2 separate regions of the Homo sapiens genome follow, and region 1 is linked to region 2. The links are contacts of gene promoters, found by promoter capture Hi-C in human tissues and cell types (Jung and others, 2019). All regions are on one chromosome and are shown on one strand. Each heading gives the region's core, a stretch centred on a gene start or on the middle of the fragment in contact. The rest is flanking DNA. Distances are from core to core; before and after follow the strand shown. Region 1 overlaps LOC105377085 (a long non-coding RNA gene). Region 2 holds the start of GLYCTK (glycerate kinase).

Region 1 (6,722 bases), core at 1,852-4,351, 750 kb after region 2:
CTAACAGATCTGAGTCACCCACTCCCACGCAGTAAGAGGTCACTCTCCATCAGGAAGCCCACTCTGCAAAGTTTCCTTGTTCATCTCCCAGGCTGCCACCACCATGACCCACATAAAGCTGATTCTCCAATCTCAGTAGCCTATCAACCCTCCTCTACACTCCCCAAACCACAACTCCCACCGGCCTCACCCTAACGACAAGACAGCTAGCACTACTCACCGTGTGCCACTACTCACTCCTGTGATAAGTTCCTTGCCTGAAAACCACTCCTCGTCAGGGTGCATCAGGGCCCCGGAGGATCCAGCTCTCTGCTTAACTCTCTTGTGCCCAGCTGAGCTCCTGCCTTTCCAGGAACTAATCACCAGTTACCTCAGGGAAGCTAAACTCTCAATGCCTCTTCTGCCCCAGCCCGACCCCAGTCTGCCAAATTCCCAGACCTCAGGAGAGGGGGTCGGGGAGACGCATCCAGATGCGCCTTAGGGATTAGACACACAGAAGCCCCTAAAATTCCAAATACTTTCCCAACCCCACACCGCGCTCTGGTCATCCTCCGGGGCGCCAGCATCCAGAGCCAAAAGCGCAGAGGGGCAACAGTTAAGTCTCCGTGTCCCTACGACTCCCTTCCCCGGCTACGAAATCCTCAAATATCAAGCCACTGAGGCCCCGGGTCGAGGCCCAAGACCCCCGCCAAGCCTCCGGCCACTGGAGTTTCCCGGGTGGGGGACCCCGTGCCCCGAAGGCCCGGGCCGCTGGGTCCATCTAGCTGCCCCGAGCCACTGCATGGCAGGGGCCCAGGCCGCGTCTCCAGTCGGTCCCCATTGTTGCGGGACCCGGCGGCCCCGGCCGGGAGCGAGGAACCGGCACCGGCGTCTCACCTCCTGCGCCGCGGCTCCGGGCCGCGCCGGACCGCGCAGGGCCGAGGGACCTCACGTTCAGCTTCGCCCGCCTAGGCAAAGTCTGCGGCGGCGGAGGCGGGGGCGGCGGCTGAGGCGGGAAGCAGCCGGCCAGGCCCGGGCGCCGCGGGCTGGCTCTGGCCAAGCGTCGGTCTCCACCGGCGGCGGCGCTCGCCAGCCTCCGCTCACGGTCCGCGCCAGAAAGCGTCCCCCTCCCGGCCCGCGCGCCCGACCGCACGGACGGGAACACGCGCCGCGGAGAGGAAAGTTCCGCTGAGAGCCGACTGAAGGCCGTTCCCCTGCGCCGGGTGTACGGCGATTCCTGCCTGGATGGGACCGTTTCTGGAATGAATGCCGCACAGAAATCCCAAGCCAGAAGCTGCCTGAGAATGGTTCTAGGGGTGGGTCCAACGGAATGGTTTTGCACTCGCCAGCCATTTAGCATCTCAATTGAGCCTCAGTTTCTCCTCATTTCTCATTGGGAATAATCTAGGCGGCTTGTTAGGATTGAATGAGGTGATGCGAATACCTAGCTCAGAGATAGGGAGCTCTACACCGGGGTACGATCGTTACTGATCCTGCCAATGCTGCTGCTACTGTTGCCTCCAACATAGGTTGTGCTCAGCCCTCAAGGGCCCTTGAAATTATGCGCATCATGTAACTCTTCTTTTTTCACCCTCGGTCCCCACCTACCATCCTGTTTCCTGTTAAGTGAAGCTGTCTTCAGAATTCCCTGGAAGAGAAGCAGAGGCAAAAGGGGGCTTTCTTGATTGCTGACACTCAGGTGGAGGTTAAGGGTGCAGGTTCTCCTTCCTCAAGTTGGGAATTACTGCCATGTGGCCATGTGGGCTCCAGTTACTGATGGGACTGTAACGGCTCTCTCCACTATAGCCTCAGGTTCTCTTCTCCTCTTCCCAATAAGTGAATGTTGACAAAATGATTTTTTTTTTTTTGAGAAGGAGTTTCGCTCTTGTCGCCCAGGCTGGAGTGCAGTGGCGGGATCTTGGCTCACTGCAACCTCCGCCTCCTGGGTTCAAGCTATTCTCCCGCCTCAGCCTCCCGAGTAGCTGGGATTACAGGCGCCCGCCACCACGCCCCGCTAATTTTTTGCATTTTTAGTAGAGACAGGGTTTCGCCATATTGGGCAGGCGGGTCTCGAACTCCTGACCTCAGGTGATCCTGCCCACCTCTGCCTCCCAAAGTGCTGGGCCACCAGGCGTGAGCCACCACCTCTGGCCGACAAAGTGATGTTTTAAATTACAAAAGTGCATCTTTCTTTGAAGGCTTTGTATTTTACTCATAAAATCAAGAGGATAGCAATTCCTTTCTCGTCCCCACTTTCCTTTTCTTCTAGGCCTTCACACCTCTAAGATACCAGATGCGGTTATTTTTGGAGCTAACTCTTGATGGGAATTTAGATCTGCAGAAGGTGTTCCAAAAAAAATCCTAATTTTCAGGTGTTCTCAAATTTCCCATTTTTACATACCCCCTTGGCTTCTGAGACACATATATGCCTGATTTTTCATTTATATTATTTTCTGGAGGTAATGAAAGGGTTCTGCCTGTCAAAAGGCACTTTGCTATCTAATATGGATCTGTGTCCCCACCCAAATCTCATGTTGAATTGTAATCCCCAATGTTGGAGGTGGGGTCTGGTGGGAAGTAATGGGATCATGGGGGTAGATCCTTCATGAATGGCTTAGCACTGTCCCTTTGGTTCTCTTCTTGTGAGTTCTCACAAGATCTGGTTGTTTAAAAGTGTATGGTGTCGGCTAGGCGCGGTGGCTCATACCTATAATCCCAGCACTTTGGGAGGCCGAGGCAAGTGGATCACCTGAGGTTAGGAGTTTGAGACTAGCCTGGCCAAAATGGCAAAACCCTGTCTCTACTAAAAATGCAAAAATTAGCCAGGCATGATGGTGTGTGTCTGCAATCCCAGCTACTCGGGAGGCTGAGGCAGGAGAATCACTTGAACCCAGGAGGTGGAGATTGCAGTGAGCTGAGATTGTGCCACTGCACTCCAGCCTGGGCAACAGTGAGGCTGTCTTAAAAAAAAAAAGTGTATGGCACCTCCCCCCACTTCTCTTTTCCTCCTACTCCAGCCTTGTGAGGTGCTCGCTCCCCCTTCGCCTTCCACCATGAATGTAAGTTTTCTGAGTCCTCCCCTGAAGCCCAGCAGATGCCAGCATCATGCTTTCTGTACAGCCATGAGCCAATTAAACCTCTTCTTTATAAATTATCCAGTGCCAGGCATTTATTTATAGCAGTGTGAGAACAGACTAATAGAGTGTTCCTTCTGGAAACAGCAGGCTCATGGGTTAGAAAGCAGCACAGTCAAAGCCTCTGGAAGCTTCTCCGCTTCCTCAGGTAAGAGGAACTTCATCCTAGGTTCTTCAGAGGCAAAGAATGCCTCAAAAGCTGGTTCCAGCCAAGTGCAGTGGCACATTTCTGTAGTCCCAGCTTCTCAGAAGGCTGAGGCAGGAGGCTCACTTGAGCCCAGGAAGTCAAGTTCAGCTTGGGCAATATAGCAAGACACTATCTCTTAAAAAAATAAATAAAAATTTTAAAAAGCTAGTTAACTTCTCTCCAGCAGCCTGAGGTCAGATCAGCATTCCGACCCCTCCCAGCTTCATGTCTTGCATTTTACTCATTTGGCCTCTTAGCTGGGACTCTCCGGGTGACACATAGAGCATATTTGGCCTCAGGAGTTGAAACAGGTTCACATGAAAGCCCCAGAGACTACCAAAGAGAGGAGAAAGAAACCAGTCAGGTTGGCCAGATATATTTAAACGCACACACACACACACACACACACACACACACACACTCCTATTGTTAATCCCCCCACCCCCATCCCCTGGCCCCCAATTAAAAGACTTAAGGCACAACCACCAAAACATAGACACTTACCTTTCTCATGTCACTAAAGTAGGAGCCACAAAGGCCAGAGCTAGCTCCCCTGGTGATGGAAGCCTCTTCCATTCCCTCCTCCCAGGATGGCATTGTCCTTCTGTAACATCTGTTTCCCCACCCTTCTAGAAATTCCCTGACTACTTGGATGATGTCATGCCCGCACAACAACCTCTGAGATTCATGGTACCCCAAAATTCACCTGTAGAAAGATTTGGTTCTATTAGGGGAAGTCCCTAGAGTGATTTATGCATACACCTGCCTATTGTTGGCTATACCTTTAAGTGAGTTTAAAAGATCTGGGACTGCCCTTCTGGGATTAGGCAAAATTCACCAGGGACTTGTTGGTTAATCAGAAACCAGAACAAGGTTTTCTTCATCACCATGAAAACACACATGGAAAAACACTCTCTTCATTTTTTTTTTTTTTTTTTTTTTTGAGATGGAGTCTTGCTCTGTCACCCAGGCTGGAGTGCAGTGTCGTGATCTCGGCTCACTGCATCCTCCACCTCCCAGGTTCAAGCCACCCTCTTCATTTTATCTGTTTCACCTCCTGCTTATTCCGTGAGAGTTAGATCAATCCTGCACCCACCAGCCACACTTAATGGCCCCCCCTCACTTCTGAATGCCAAAGCCATGATCACTCTGAACCAGATTCCAAGGTGACAAAGGGTTGTATTGCTTTCTTCAACAGTCATCCCATTCTTGGGATATTTTTACCTTTTCTGCTTGTATACCACTCATCACCCAGATTATAATGTCCTAGGAGATTTTTTAAAAATCGACCCCAGTATCTAATGACGGCCTAGCATAATTGCTACGCCATAAAATTCCCCATTCAGCAACTATTTACTGGGTACCAATATGTACCAGGCACTGGCCAGGCACGGTGGCTCATGCCTGTAATCCCAGCACTTTGGGAGGCCAAGGCGGGCGGATCATGAGGTCAGGAGATCAAGACCATCCTGGCTAACATGGTGAAATCCCGTCTCTACTAAAAATACAAGAATTAGCCAGGCGTGGTGGCGGGCGCCTGTAGTCCCAGCTACTCAGGAGGCTGAGGCAGGAGAATGGCGTGAACCCAGGAGGCAGAACTTGCAGTGAGCCGAGATGACGCCATTGCACTCCAGCCTGGGTGACAGTGCGAGACTCCGTCTCAAAAATAAATAAATAAATAAATAAATAAATAAAAGATGTACCAGGCACTGTACCCAATGCTGGGGAATACTAGTAAGACATGACAGGCATGACCATAAGCATTTTACAGTTATTAACTCATTTAATCCTCACATCAACATTCCACTTCAAAGGTGGAAAAATAAGCTGAGAAGTCAGAAGAGCGATGGGGTTTGAGTGCAGATCATCTAGGTCCAGAGCCCATGCTTATAACCATCCCCAACATGAATGAGGAAGTATGTTCAGAGTTGAGCCTAGAAGAGTGTGGTCTGTAGAATGTGACTAATAGAAACCTATCCTATATGGATGTTCATTCAAATGAACAGATGTTTATTGTTCCCCAGTTGTATTTCAGATGCTGATATGCCCTGGGGAACACAGCACTAAACAGGAGGGAACAGGTCTCTGCCCTCAAGTAGCTTACCTTCTAAACAGGTGAGAAAGACAGTACAAAATAATTGCAAATTCTAATAAGTTCTGAAAACACGAAACAGAGACCAGTATGGGAGAGAGGCTGTTGGAAGAGGGAAGGCATTGGGTAAGACCAACCCAATGAGGTGTCCTGTGAGCTGAATCCTGAATGCCAAGAATGCTAACGAGAACCATGTAAAGTCTCAGGGAAGAAGAATTCTAGGCAGAGGGACCAGAACTTGGGGGCAACATGGTGTGTAGGTGTAGTGAGAAGCCCCAGATAACTGCCCTGTGAAAGATTCTCCCCAGGGCCTGAAAGCTTGAAGGGATGAGTAACTCCTCCCTTCTCAGGCCCAGTCCCAAGGCAAAAGGCCACTTGCGCTAGCAGTGTGCGTCAGCAAGATAGCAGAAGCAGGAAGAGAGCCGGCCGGAAGACACCTACCCAGGCCGGAAGACACCTCCCCTGGCCGGAAGACACGTAACTCTGAAGATCGAGAAAAAGGCCACCCAGGTACCACGTAGCAGTTACGTCAGACTGGGACACTTCCTGTTTACAGGAGACTATAAAACCCCTGCCCCATCCTCACTTGGGGCTGATGCCATTTTAGGCCTCAGCCCGCCTGCACCCAGGCGCTCATTAAAACAGTGTGTTGCTCCACACCGCCTCGTGTTGTCCATTGGCGTGCTCTCGGGGTTTGAACCGATACAAGAACTTTCATCTGGTGCCGAAACCTGGGGCAGGGGTTTTCCGCTCCTCCTAGGCACCACCTCCCAAAAAGCTGAACTCATTGCTGTCACTCAAGCTCTCACTCTAGCAGCCAGACAACAAATTAACATATATTTGGATTCTCGTTATGCGTTCCATGAAGTACACTCACACTCGTCTATCTGGAAAGAACGAGGTTTCCTAACTGCAAAAAACACTCGTGTCATAAATGGCTCTCTCATCAGCAAGCTCCTTCAAGCTGCCAGTCTCCCACAGAAAGTTGCCATCATTCATTGCAGGGGCCACCAAATCCCAGACAATTCTATATCGGCCGGAAATGCTTTAGCAGATCAGGTAGCCAAACAAGTAGCCCTATAACCCATGCAAGGCCAGTTTCTGTCCCTGTCCTTGTTCTCTCCTCTTTCCTCCTCAGAAGAAAAGGAGGACTTCCAGGCCCAGAACCTCCAAAAGCAAGGACCACGGTATGTCAAGGAAGGGCACTTCGTTCTTCCTCACTCTCAAACAATTCCTATCCTCCAAAGTCTCCACAACTCTTTTCATGTCGGTTACAAACCTCTCTTACAACTTCTCCGCCCTATTCTCACTTGTGCTCACCTTTCCAGCC
Region 2 (7,446 bases), core at 1,214-3,713:
GCACAACTGAGGCCCTTGCAAGGCAAAAGACAGGAGGTCCCCCACGGCCGCCCCTCTGAGGGCTCAGGGCCAGTGGACCCCACAGCTGCTGCTACAAGAAGGAGCCATCTGATAGCCCCAGGAGACTTCCTGAAGCCTGCAGCTGCAGGATCTTACTCGTCCTTGGAGACCAGCCCTGCCACCCAGCCACGTCCTCCTCTTCTGCAGACCACATGCCGGCCCTCTGGATACTCTGCCTCAAGTCCAAAGTTCCTATTAGCTGGGCCCTCCTCCCAGGTCACCCCTTTGGCTGGGAGTTAATCATTGACAGAGGGAGTAATTTCTACCAGTGGGCTCCCATCCCACCCCTTTTCCACCCCCTGCACTTCTGCGCTGTTACCCTGGGGCAACGCCCCTTTCTGGCACTCCTTCCTTGCCTCTTTACCACCTCTGCTGCCAGGAAGCTGTTGATTGTCCCACCAACTGACCCTGAGCCCATTGACCTCCAGTCTTCTCTATTTCATTATCTCATGAGACTGGGATTAGGAGCCTGGGAAGTCAGGGTCTATAGGAGGCTGCAGGTTTATCAGGTCAAACCCAGAACACATCCTCAGGGCAAGCAATCTGAGGAATCTCAGTATGCAGGACCAGTTCAGCAAGAGGTTTAGGTTCAAATCAGGAGTGAGGGCAAAGTCTGGCTCATGGTGGAACCTTAGAAAAGTCCCCAGGCACCATGTGAGGCCATGTGCCATGAAGCCCAATTGCAGGACAGAAAAGGATGCCCTTCTACCCACACAGTTGGCCAGACCCAACCCTGCCAAGAACACGCCTTCTGGTTCCAAGATAACAAAAACAAGTCCTAGGTCACACCACCCACAGTGGTGAGAGCCCAAGGGCTGAAGTAGGCAAAGGCCAGGCTCCCATAACTGAGCCCATAGCCATTTTCCCCACTGGGCAGAGTAAAAGCTAAAGAAGCCTTGGGGCGAAGGTCAGGAAGCTGTAGAGGGGTATAGGAACAACAAAGACCCAAACAGCTCATCTGTACTACATATGTACTATTGCATCTACTTTAATAAATGCCTACCATAAATGTTGCAAGCTGACTTCATCAGCAAGTATGGACTGAGCAGGGTAAGGAGGCTGGGAATTGAGGTTCCAGCTCTACTATAGGCTTTCTGAGTGGCTGGGACACCTCCATTTCTCTCACTGGGCCTCATCCGCAAAATGAGACATGGGGTGAGATTAACACTACGCTCTTCCCTTAACAACCTCAGGCTCTCTGATACTGTCCACTGCAACACAGATCTCAAACACCGGTTTACCCCACACCCAAATATGGTGGTTACTTCTAGACTTTGACCATTTTGCTTGCCTAGTTCTCAGCTCTCCGGTAAGAAAAGACAGCCATGCCTGACTTCTGTTGTGAAAGGGAACACAGAGGGCATCGTCATGGGGATTCCGAAAATGGGTCCAGTTTTGGCCAGGGGGACCCCTGGAGCTTGCCCATTGGACTTGGAGCTAAAAGCATCTTAGCAACTAAGACAGCCGGTCTTTATAGCCTGGATGAAATTTGTATCTATTTCCCAGATGGACAAGAGCCTAGAAGATCCCAGCCTTGCCACTGGGTATGAGCACAGGACAGGGGGACGCTCAATGCTAAGGCTGCCAGAGAAAATACAGGACTTCCGGTTAAATTTGAATTTCAAATAAACAAGTAATTTTTAAAGTATAAGTATGTGCATACAATGTTTAGGACTTAACAATTATTCGTCGTTTATCTTAACTCAAATTTAACTGGACGTGGCCCGGCGCAGTGGCTCACGCCTGTAATCCCAGCACTTTGGAAGGCTGAGGCGGGCGCATCACCTGAGGTCAGGAGTTCGAGACCAGCCTGACCAACGTGGTGAAACCCCGTCTCTTCTAAAAATACAAAAATTAGCCGGGTGTGGTGGGCGCCCGTAATCCCAGCTACTCGGGAGACTGAGGCATGAGAATCATTTGAACAGGGGAGGCGGAGGTTGCAGTGAGCCGAGATCGCGCCACTGCACTCCAGCCTGGGTGACAGAGTGAGATTCTAACTCAAAAAAAATGTAACTGGACGCTTTGCATTTTTATTTGCTAAGTCCTCCAATTCTATCCAAGACACGGTCTCTCCGAAACTCCGGGAGGCTCCAGAGCAAAACAACGGAAATAGGAAGACTACCGGTCTTGACTCCTCCCCGCCATCAAAGAAGGCTGGTACCATTTCCGGCTTTCCCTAGACAGTAGGGGGCCGGAAGTGACGTCATCCTAAGGTAGGGCCTTAGCGAGGGAAATGGCTGCCGCGTAATGCCCGGTGATGCGAGAAAGAAGGGCCTGCTGCCACCAGGACCCGTCATCGCCCAGCCCAGGGACCGCTTCTGAAGGCCATGCGAGCCCTGGCGGCGCAGACTTACCAGCCCACAGCTCCGGCCGCGGTGCCCAGCGCTGGAGAACGGAAGTACTAGGGGGTGGGCGGAGCGGAAGCCGGAAGTGTGGGTGGGTGGAGCGGCGCAGGCGGGTGCGAGCTCTGGCTGAAGCCGGTGTCCGGGAGGGGAGAGTTTAGCATATTGGCTCTTTGCTGGCCACTGACAGACCTGGAAGGAGTCACCTTCAGTCCTCATTTTTTAAATCTCTACATTGAGGGTAATAATCCCCGCCTCACCGATTGCCGATTTTTTTTTTGAGACGGGGTCTCATTCTGTCGCCCAGACTGGAGTGCAGAGTCGCGGTTTCGGCCCAATGCAACCTCCGCCTCCCGGATTCAAGCGATTCTCATGCCTCAGCCTCCCGAGTAGCTGGGATTACAGGCATGTGCCACCACTCCGGGCTAATTTTTGTATTTTTTAGTAGAGACGGGCTTTCGCCATGTTGCCCAGGCTGGTCTCGAACGCCTAACCTCAAGCGATCCACCCACCTCAGCCTCCGAAAGTGATGGGATTACAGACTTCAGCCGCCGCACCCGGCCTCTCCCTTCCTTTATCCTGTACGGTCAGTCAGCAGATGCACCCTGAGTGTCAGGCACTGACTGGGCTGAGCAAACGAACTGAGAATCACTACTTCCCCACAACTCACCCCTTCTGGAGCCAGATTAAGTAATTCCCGCTCCTCTCCATGGCTTTTATTCCACAACTTATTATTGTTCTTCCCTCTCCCACCATGGGCCACCAAATACAGCTCTGGCTTAGCAAGAGTTCCATTCTGCGATCCTCAAGCACATAAGCGGCATGTAAACGCTAATGACTCTGGGCCTACCTCGCTGTCCCTACTCTCATCCGGGGCCTACCCTGTGTTGGCTGGATGCCTTCCCACATTCATAAGATGAGTCCTGATCAGACTCCAAAAATACAAAACAGTTCACTGTTTTTACTGATGTTTTCTTAGGGAGATAGAGGAGAGAGTTGCATCACAAATCACACACTTGATTTCCTAACAATTTTATTGAAACATGTTTCTTGGCAGGGCGCAGTGTTTCACGCCTGTAATCCCAACATTGGGGAGGCCAAGGTGGGCGGATCGCTTGAGCCTAGGAATGCGAGACCAGCCTGGGAACATGGCGAAACTTATCTCTACCAAAAAAAAAAGAGCCAGGTGTGGTGGCATGCTCCTGTAGTCCCAGCTACTCAGGAGGCTGAGATGGGAGGATCACCTGAGCCTGGGAGGTAGAGGCTGCAGTGAACCTTGATCACGCCACTGCACTCCAACCTGGGCCCCTGTCTCAAAAAAAAACCAACAAACAAAAACACATTTCTTTCTCTTGGTTTTGAGGTGGAGTCTTGCTCTGTCACCCAGGCTGGACTGCAATGGCACAGTCTCAGCTCACGGCCACTGCACTGCAGCCTGGGCACGATGTCGGCTCACTGCAACCTCCGCCTCCCAGGTTCAAGCAATTCTCCTGCCTCAGCCTCCCGAATAGCTGGGACTACAGGCGCCCGCCACCACGTCCAGCTAATTTTTGTATTTTTAGTAGAGACAGAGTTTCACCATGTTGGCCAGGCTGGTCTCGAACTCCTGACCTTGTGATCCACCGCCCTTGGCCTCCCAAAGTGCAGGGATTACAGGCGTATAAACAATTACAGGCGCCCGGCCTATATAAACAACCTTCATCTTTCCCCATGCTGGAGAACACTAATTGCCACTGCTTGGTGTCTGTGTTTCCCTGGATGGCTGCCCTCACACTTTATGCTTGAATAAATTCTTTTAACTGGATATCGAACCTTTTGATGATTTTTAGGTTGACATTAGAAATGTGTTTTTGGGACAGGTGCAGTGGCTCATGCCTGCAATCCCAGTACTTTGGGAGGCTGAGGCAGGTGGGATCATTTGAGGTCAGGAGTTCGAGACTGGCCTAACCAATATGGTGAAACCCCATCTCTACTAAAAAATACAAAAATTAGCTGGGCATGGGCCGGGCACAGTGGCTCACACCTGTAATCCTAGCACTTTGGGAGGCTGAGGCAGGTGGATCACCTGAGGTCAGGAGTTCAAGACCAGCCTGGCCAACATGGCGAAACCCCGTCTCTACTAAAAATACAAAAATTAGCTAGGCATGGTGGTGTGTGCCTGTAATCCCAGCTACTGGTGGGGCTGAGGCAGGAGGATTGCTTGAACCTGGGAGGTTGCAGTGAACCGAGATTGCGTGACTGCCCTCCAGCCTGGGTGACAAAGCGAGACTCCGTCTCAAAAAAAAAAAAAAAAAAGATTGTTTATATAGGCAAAAACAGGAGTGCTGACCAGAATTACAACATTTTCCAAAAAAAGGCTAACATAAATACAAGATTTGGTTGGCTACTATTGATTATACTGGAAGGAGTTTGCTTAACATTCTATTGTAAAGAGACAACAATCACAAGGGTCTCTATCTCCCACATCATCTAGTCTAAGTCTGAATGAAGAATAGGGAGCCTGGTTAATGTATAACATTTCAATACAAAGATCAGGAAGCAGCAGTCATGCATCAGAGAAGAAAAAAAAAAAGCAATGCCTGCTCAGTTTCCAGGGCTTCACTTTTCTCCTTCACATTATAAATTGGGAATGTCCTAAAATTTTATTTTCTTTTCACACCCCCTACCTGCTCCCTTTGGCAGTTGCTACATCTCTCCTTAGGTCTCCAAACCATGCTGTGCTCTTGTCATGAACCTTTCCCTTCCTCTGGCCCCCACTTCCAGCTCTCTCCCTGGATTTTTCTTTTTCTTATATATACATATATTTTTATTTGAGACAGGATCTCACTCTGTCACCCAGGTTGGAGTTCAGTGCCATCATCTTGGATTATTGCAACCTCCACCTCCGAGGCTCAAGTGATCCTCCCACTTCAGTCTCCCAAGTAGCTGGGACCACAGACGTGCACCACCACACCCAGCTAATTTTTTGTATTTTTTGTAGAGAAGTGGTTTTGCCATGTTGGCCAGGCTGGTCTCAAACTTCTGCGCTCAAACCATCTTCCTGCCTCTGTCTCCCAAAGTGCTGGGATTACAGGTGTGAGCCACCACACCCGTCCTTCTCCCTGGATTTTTCCTTTTAAAATATGAGACTTTGTATTCCTTCTCCTAAATGATTTCCCACCACATCATCAAAACAAAGGCATCCGTAGGTGGAATTGCCCTCTTTAATGTGGGAGAGGTTGTAAATACTGAAAATTTTATTGTTTTTTCTTGGTTATAGTCAGCTATATTCCTTCCATGCATTTATTCCTTCCTCAGACATAATTCAAGACATTTCCTGAGTGCCTTCTGTGTGGGCCGAATGCTGTAGCTGCTGGGATAGGTAAGAAGTGGTACTTTTAATTTTAATTTTTTTTTGTTTTTAGGAGACAAAGTCTCACACTGTCGCCCAGGCTGGAGGACAGTGGTGATTACAGCTCACTATAGCCTCAACCTCCTGGGTTGTAGCGATCCTCCTGCCTCAGCCTCTCAAGTAGCTGGGACTACAGGTGCACACCACCATGCCTGGCTAATTTTTTGTGGAGACAGGGTCTTGCTTTGTTGCCCAAGCTGGTCTCAAACTCCTGGGCTCAAGCAGTTCTCCTGCCCCAGCCTCTGAAAGTGCTGGGACTATAGGTGTAAGCCACTGTGCCCAGCCTGGGCTTGCAGGGTTACTCCGTGGGAGGGAAGGTCAGCTGTGTTGGAGGCAGGGTAAAGTGGAGCTGTGTCCTATGTAAGGGCTGTACAACACCTTAAAACTGGGAGGCCGAGGTGAGCGGATCACTTGAGGTCAGGAGTTTGAGACCAGCCTGGCCAACATGGCAAAACCCCGTTTCTACTAAAAATACAACAACAACAACAACAACAACAACAACAACAAATTAGCCGGATGTGGTGTCACGCACCTATAATTCCAGCTACTCGGAAGGCTGAGGTGGGAGAATTGCTTGAACCCAGGAGGTAGAGGTTGCAGTGAGCTGAGATCACACCACTGCACTCCAGCCTGGGTGACAGAGTGAGACTCTGTCTCAAAAAAAAAAAAAAAAAAATTAAAAAAAATAAAACATCTTAAAGCTATTTTTCTTGGAAGGAGGAGTTGGGGAGAGTAAAACAAAACACTAGGAAGCAGTTCAGCATGACTCTAGGCAAGCACTGATGAGAGGCCACTAAAGCTGTGTATGTTGGATTGTTTGGGAGTTTTTAAGCCTTAGGAAACAGTGCTGTAGTTTTAGAGACAGTGGCCTTGGCCCTGAGACTCTAGGCAGTTCCTTCTGGCTCTGAGCAGTCAAGGCTTATCTGGGAAGATTCCATCCTTTCCTTCCAGACTAAGAAGGTATTATTTACCGACAGTGGTCTTTGTTAAATGTGAATGATTTCTTGTCCTTTGCCCTGGAAACAGAACACAAGCTTTCCAGTGCTGAAGCAGAGTGTGAATCCAGACTTCAGTGCTTATTGGTTAAGTGACCCTGAGAAAGTTAACCTCTCAGAACTTCAGAGTCTTCATCACAGTATGTTTCCAGTGCATGTAGAAAGGCTCAGTGTTGTTGCTGTACTAGTCCTGGGTTGAGCCAGCTTCATGGGTGTGTGACTTGTATAGTCAGAAGGACCCTGCACTTCATTTAATATTCTGTTGTTGTCATCTTGAGATTCTTAGCAATTTTTTAACAAGGGGCCCTACAAATTGGGTAGTTAGTCCTGCTGCCAGGGAAAGATACTTTCTTTTTATCCAGGCCCCCGGTCCTGGAGTCTCAAGACCTCTCTGAGGAATTCCAGTAGAAGTGGACATACATTAGTAACTAAATTTATTTATTATTTCTGGTCATATTCATGTATATCCCACAAGATTTTCCATGCACACACTTAAATTCTGTCTAAATAAAAATGGCTTACTTCATCCTTGTAATATTTATTTTTTTTCTTTCTTTTTTTTTTGAGACAGAGTTTCACTCTATCGCCCAGGCTGGAGTGCGATCTCGGCTCTGCAACCTCCGCCTCCCGGGTTCAAGCAATTCTCCTGCCTCAGCCT

The links. Contacts are between HindIII fragments. The study calls those that stand out against the background at their distance.
Region 1: a contact is called between a fragment that was not itself captured here and the fragment with the promoter of GLYCTK in region 2, in 1 of the 25 tissues and cell types used here (hippocampus).

Annotation. Positions count from the first base shown.
Region 1 is chr3:51,533,070-51,539,791 of GRCh38, reverse strand. It overlaps LOC105377085 (a long non-coding RNA gene), which reads right to left. Exons shown (of 3, transcript XR_940835.3): 2 at 3,805-4,006; 3 at 3,123-3,633. RAD54L2 (RAD54 like 2) reads right to left here and starts at 1,073. Exons shown (of 23, transcript NM_015106.4): 1 at 877-1,073. RefSeq lists enhancers at 97-186, 1,005-1,299 and a silencer at 717-1,116. The HindIII fragment of the contact is 7,506 bases long and covers 1-6,722 here.
Region 2 is chr3:52,282,845-52,290,290 of GRCh38, reverse strand. It overlaps GLYCTK (glycerate kinase), which reads right to left and starts at 2,463. Exons shown (of 5, transcript NM_145262.4): 1 at 2,415-2,463. It overlaps GLYCTK-AS1 (GLYCTK antisense RNA 1), which reads left to right and starts at 558. Exons shown (of 1, transcript NR_046719.1): 1 at 558-1,711. LOC107986086 (a long non-coding RNA gene) reads left to right here and starts at 2,271. Exons shown (of 3, transcript XR_001740699.2): 1 at 2,271-2,458; 2 at 5,700-5,763; 3 at 7,360-7,446. RefSeq lists enhancers at 2,696-2,805, 1,632-2,831, 2,137-2,878. The HindIII fragment of the contact is 16,985 bases long and covers 1-7,446 here.